Linked DNA regions of Homo sapiens: region 1 is linked to region 2. Evidence: promoter capture Hi-C in 16 types of primary human blood cells and fetal thymus (Javierre and others, 2016). All regions are on one chromosome and are shown on one strand. Each heading gives the region's core, a stretch centred on a gene start or on the middle of the fragment in contact. The rest is flanking DNA. Distances are from core to core; before and after follow the strand shown. Region 1 holds the start of GAPVD1 (GTPase activating protein and VPS9 domains 1). Region 2 holds the start of NR6A1 (nuclear receptor subfamily 6 group A member 1).

The links. Contacts are between HindIII fragments. The CHiCAGO score rates a contact against its expected background, and 5 or more counts as called.
Region 1: a contact is called between the fragment with the promoter of GAPVD1 here and the fragment with the promoter of NR6A1 in region 2, in 5 of 17 cell types (endothelial precursors, total CD8 T cells, naive CD8 T cells and 2 more). The highest score is 7.9, in endothelial precursors.

What each region holds. Positions count from the first base shown.
Region 1 is chr9:125,260,512-125,263,366 of GRCh38, forward strand. It overlaps GAPVD1 (GTPase activating protein and VPS9 domains 1), which reads left to right and starts at 1,315. Exons shown (of 28, transcript NM_001282680.3): 1 at 1,315-1,448. RefSeq lists silencers at 1,212-1,393, 1,332-1,461. The HindIII fragment of the contact is 7,780 bases long and covers 1-1,856 here.
Region 2 is chr9:124,770,042-124,772,805 of GRCh38, forward strand. It overlaps NR6A1 (nuclear receptor subfamily 6 group A member 1), which reads right to left and starts at 1,270. Exons shown (of 10, transcript NM_033334.4): 1 at 979-1,270. The coding sequence starts at 1,078. It overlaps LOC124900274 (a long non-coding RNA gene), which reads right to left and starts at 439. Exons shown (of 2, transcript XR_007061773.1): 1 at 1-439. It overlaps LOC107987126 (a long non-coding RNA gene), which reads left to right and starts at 1,316. Exons shown (of 2, transcript XR_001746926.3): 1 at 1,316-1,732; 2 at 2,661-2,764. RefSeq lists silencers at 1-219, 760-1,339 and enhancers at 1,052-1,619, 1,410-1,669. The HindIII fragment of the contact is 3,513 bases long and covers 1-2,090 here.

The DNA of each region.
Region 1 (2,855 bases), core at 65-2,564, 490 kb after region 2:
CAGTTTGGGAGTTGATTGACATTTGAAATAGCTGGGGAAATGATTATTACTTTTTTCCTTTTTTTGCCTGGAGACTCCCAGTATTGGAGGATATAATCATTGTTCTCAATTTTTTGAAGATCTGTCAAGTGGAAGACATTCTGTATTGCTCCAGGCAGCCTAACTACCAGCAATGGAAGGAAATAAAGGGAAACAGATTTCAGCTCAGCAGGAGGCAGAACTTTCTAACATTTAGAGCTGTCCAACAGTGGAGCAGGCTGCATTACTTGAGGGAGTGAGCTCCCTGAAATTTGAACTGTTGAACAGGAAGATGACCATCTGGCTGAATGTACAGGAGGGAATTCCTGCCTGGGCAACAGTTGCACTAGTGACCTTTAAGCAGGTATCTTCCAATTTTAAGGTTTCTAGACTGTTCAACTCAGCTAACTTGACCTCTGAATATATGAGTTATGGTGTTACAAAAATTATTAGACAGTTCATTTATTGACTTACCTAAAATAACTGCATGGTGAAGTTTATGATAAGCAAGATTTTAGAAACTGAGAAGTGGGAAGGCAGGTTTTACACTGAAAATCCAGATACCATCCAAACCAATTAATGGCACTTAGAACAAAAGGGAAGGGAGGGGCCGGCAGCGGTGGCTCACGCCTGTAATCCCAGCACTTTGGGAGGCCGAGGCGGGCGGATCACGAGGTCAGGAGATCGAGACCATCCTGGCTAACACGGTGAAACCTCGTCTCTACTAAAAATCAAAAAATTAGCCGGGCGTGGTGGCGGGCGCTTGTAGTTCCAGCTACTTGGGAGGCTGAGGCGGGAGAATGGCGTGAACCCGGGAGGCGGAGCTTGCAGTGAGCCGAGATTGAGCCACTGCACTCCAGCCTGGGCGACAGAGCCAGACTCCGTCTCGAAAAAAAAAAAAAAAGGGAAGGGAGGTTTGTAAGTAGTGTGTGCGTACGTGTGAGAGAGAAACAGAGAAGAGAGAGAGTCATTCATGCGAATAATGTGTCCTGGGCAACTGAGCGTTGTCACAGAAAGCATAAAACGCTCTACATTTTTGCTTTACACATACTTGCTCAGTCGGATTCTTCACGTCCAGCATTACTGCAGGCGGAAACCAGGGCCCAGGCCTGGTGAACAGCCTTCCGGAAGACGATTCCGGACCCGGACACCCACGACAGCCTCAGGGGGCAGCTGACCTAGGGCTGCCTAAGGCGGAAGTGGGAGCCCCTAGCCGCCCGGGCGGAACTACAGCTCCCAGAGGCCCCCGCGGCGCTGCGCACGCGCGCTGGCGTGGCGGCAGCGCCGCTGCAGGACGCAGGGAAGCCAACAGGCGAGTGGCGAAGGTGGCGGCAGCGGCGGCGGGGGCAGTCACCGGCTAGGGCGACGGCTCCGAGGCCGAGTGGCGGTCCGACAGAGTCCTCCGTGTCCTCCCCCGCATGACCCCCTTGGTGAGTACGCGTCCCGATTTAGTCCGCGGGCTGTGAGCGGCTCCCTGCCTCGCGGCCGGGTTGCTCCGGCCTAGGGCCGCAGCCTGTCTCTGACTGCCCGGCCGTCAGGTCCAACTGACCCCGGGGTCCTGGGCTCTTCCCGTCAGTGTCGGGCGAGGTGGGGGTCGGGGGACACTGGGTTAGACCCAGGGGAGAGATGTGGCGGCGCGCAGGAGCCAGGGCGGCCTGGGGCTGAGGAGAGGGAGAGACGCGTGGGGGATGGGATGGGAAGGGACAGGAGGACCGCGGGGCGGCCTCGGGTGGGGGCCAGAGACGAGAGGCCCGGCAGGTAGGGAACTGAGTATAGGAGGCGAGAACGAAATGGAATGTCTTCTGAGTGTCGCTGATAAAGATATCGTGCTGCAGGGAAGCTTGACAAGCTGGACACACGGGTCTGGGGGCAGCCCACCTAACACAGACACTCACTGTACTTGGCATCTTTCCACTTGCTGTCGGAGGTCTGAAAGTGAGGGAGCTGTTGGTTGTTTCCATCCCTTTTCTTTTAACTTCACCTTTTATTGACTGGCAAAATTGTAGTGAGTGCTGGCTAGGCAAACCACAGAAGTACACCCAGGGTTCTGTGTATAAATGTGCATAAAAACAGGGAGACATAGTGATAGGTTCAGATGAGAACTAGGTCAAAGGAGGAATCAGTGTTTTTATTTTTAAATTTATGACGAAAATCAGTTCTGAGCAGGACTTTGAACTAGAGAGGGGTTTTAAACTGGAGTTCATTGATGGATAGAATTAGAAGGGTCCTTTCACTAGAAGGAGGATAAAATGACATCATTATTTTTATTGACTGCTAACTGAAACTTATTATTTCCTTCAGTTACGAATGTGGACAACAAGCCAGAGTAGCATTAGCAGCGCCTATGACTTTGTGATCAATAAAAATTACGGATATTTTTGCATCATGTTTACAGTTGCAGATAGCTCAGAATATCATTTATGGTTAACACTTCTTTGAATTTCTGGTGTTACTAGACCCGCCGTTAGACATTGTTATTTAATGTGATAATAAGGCTGTACATATATTATGACCATATTAGTTTGTTGTTTTGCTAATATTTCCATATAATTGGTTTCCCTTGTAATCACATGTATTTAATTATGCACTTAAAAGAAATCTGAGAAAGGGACCATAGGCTTCACCAAACTGCCAATGAGGTCCGTGCACAAAAAGATTAAGAACTCCTGAAATAATTTGGGAGGCCGAGGCGGGCGGATCATTGAGGTCAAGAGATCGAGACCATCCTGGCCAACATGGTGAAACCCCATCTCTACTAAAAATACAAAAATTAGTTGGGTGTGGTGGCCCATGCCTGTAATCCCAGCTACTTGGGAGGCTGAGGCAAGAGAATCACT
Region 2 (2,764 bases), core at 20-2,519:
GGGCGAGGGGGCGAGGGACGAGCGGTAGGAAGGGCCGGGCCAGGTGAGGGATTCTCAGCTCCCAAGGTCCCGGATCGGGACAAGAAAGAGGAGAACTGAGACTAAGAGGTGGGGACCGGGACCTGCCGGGCAGAAGCCGGGAGGAGGCAGGTGTCCGGGGCCCCGGGGCGGGCTGGAGCCCTCGGCCAGGGAAAGCCGTTGCCTGGCGGAGAGGGGAGCTGAGCAGGGGCGGAGACCGGCCAGAGCGCGCGGGGCGTTGAGGAAGGTGAGGCGCAGGGGAAGCAGGAGGCGCGAAGGGGTCCGAAAAAGGAAACGACTGGGGGATGTCTAGCGAACGGGGGTTCGGCAGAGGTGGGGGGCTCGTAGTATTCAAGGAAGAACGCTCGAGGCTGCAGAAGAGGAAAACGCTCTAGAAAGCTGAGCGGTACAAGGGTGCTGTGGAGTCGGGTCAACAGGGCAAGAAGGGAGCGTCCTCGGTGGGAGGAGGAACCCCTGTAGGGGAAAAGAGAGGCTCTGCGTTAAGGGAACCCGAGTGAGGGGATGCCCCCACTGACGGACCGCGGTGGGGACTTCCAACCTGAGGAGCCCGGGGGGAGGGGAAGGTTCGGTGCTGGGAAGACAGGGGGAGGGGACCCGGGGGGAGGAGGGAGGATTGGTGCTGAGGGGACGGGGGGAGGGGAAGCCTGTGCAGAGGGGACGGGGGGAGGGGGAAATGAAGCTCGGTGCCCAGGGACCCGGGCAGGGGGAGGGTCCGCGCAGAAGGGAACAGGGACGAAGGAGGAGGATCCACCCTGAGCGAGACCGGGGAGGAGAGGGAGGGTCCGCGCCAACGGGGAACGGGGTGAAGGGCCACCCTAAGGGGCCGCGGGGCCGCTGCGGCTTCCCAGGGCGAGGGTCGGCAGAGAGGAGGGGGATCCCTGGCGGAGGCTCAGGAAGCCGGTTCCTGCCTGGCCCGGGCGTCGCAGGCCCCTCACCCACCGTTGCGCGGCGGCGGAGGGAGCGCGGCGGGAGGCTCCAGGAACCCCGCCGAGCCCCCGCCGCCTCCCCCTCCGCTAGGCGGCGGTTCGTCCCGCTCCATGCGGTGGTGCCTAGGGTCCGCGCCGGGTTTGTTGCTCCGCCATGACCGGCGCCCTAGTCGCCGTGGTCGTCGTCCGCCGAGGGGAGGAGGTTGTCAGGAGCCCGCGAGCTCCCGGCCGCGGCTCTCTCTGGGCCCCGAGCCGCCCGGCTCCGCGCCGCTCCGCGCCCCTCCGCGCCGCGCCCCCTCAGCACTGGCCAGCTCCCTCCCCTGACGTCACACGCCGCTGCCGCGCAAGGCCCTGCGGGGCACGCTGGAAGTTGGAGTCCGCTCAGCGAGGCCGGCCACGCCGACCGCACCAACTGAAGGGGTGGAAGGAGGGATAAGAAGTCCTGAGAAGGGAAAGCTAAAGTCTGTCAATATCAAGAACCATGACAAAGCGTTTGATGTCTATGTAGTAAGCGGATACTTCCGGGCCTTGTCTTGATTGTGATTTCTACCTGATCAAAGTTCCCTAAGAGTCCTCGTAACCCCCCACCCCAACAATGAGTCTTTGCGAGGAGGTGGATCGCGAGGCAGCCGGGTGAGCACGTGCAACGAAGCCCAGCCCTGTGGGCGGGGCCCTGGAGGCGGGGCTTGAAGGTACTCACGTGGGCCTCTCCCTGCCGCTGCGGGACAAATTGGACCGGAGATTAAAGGACCGGAGTTTAACTCGAGGTGACTGCGTTCGTATGCAAATGGAATATATAAAACTCTTCTTTCCGGGGTAGTCTTTAAAGACTTTTTACCTCCGGGTGGGCGGCAAAGACTAAAGTTTCCCCTCCTCCCCTTTCATTTTCCCCCTGCCCATAGAACAGATGGGCAAACTAAGCTCCGGGCCATTGGGGCTATTAAAGAAAGCCCTAGGCTCTTGACCCCAGGTGTCTTGAAACCTTCCGTTTAAGAGGGATCCCTTGCCCAGCCTTGTTTGCCTTCCCCTTTCCTCAGTTTCCCTATCTGTAAAAGGGGGTTGGAATAAGGACAGGATCAAGTTGGAAGATCGCAAACCCCTGCCCCTCCCACCTCAGTTTCCCGAAGCTTTCCGGAAGCAAAATCCCGAATTTTGCAGCGGCTCCCGGCCGAATCCACCCGCTGCGGCCACCAGGTGGCGCGCGGCCACCGGTCACTAGGCCCGCCGGGGTGTCCGTCTTCGGCGACCCCATCGGGAAAGGATTTCGCTGCTGCCGCCAAGGGTCTAAGGCCTACCTGGCCCACTTGAAGACAAAGAACGAGAACGTTGGTGCTTTGCCCACTTCTGCTCTGCCGGATTATGCTGCAGCTTCCTCGGTGGCCGCTCATTCGCCCTCTCCTGCCCCACCCGCCCCACCAATCCCTTAGCCCTTTTATTTTTTTTTTGCCTAATTTTAAGTCCTCGTCCTGGCATTCGCATCCCTGCTTGGCCTGACCCTTGCCCACATTTCGCACCATACCCCGTCCCTCACCTGCTACGAAAGTTGCAACGCTTCTCTGCACTTGGGGGCAACTGGACCTTACCAACCCTGGTGAAACTGTATTTCATACGTAATCTGGGAGACTTACATTAACGCTCTGCCGTCTAAACCTCATACCTGCTCTATGAGATAGCAACAATATTGTCCCTTTCCAGCACTGATGAAGTCCACCAGAAGTGATGGGGATTCCAGCTCCATTCTGTCACACACCAGAACCTTAATCCTTGGCTCCTTCAAGCTGGAACGCGGCTGACTTCAC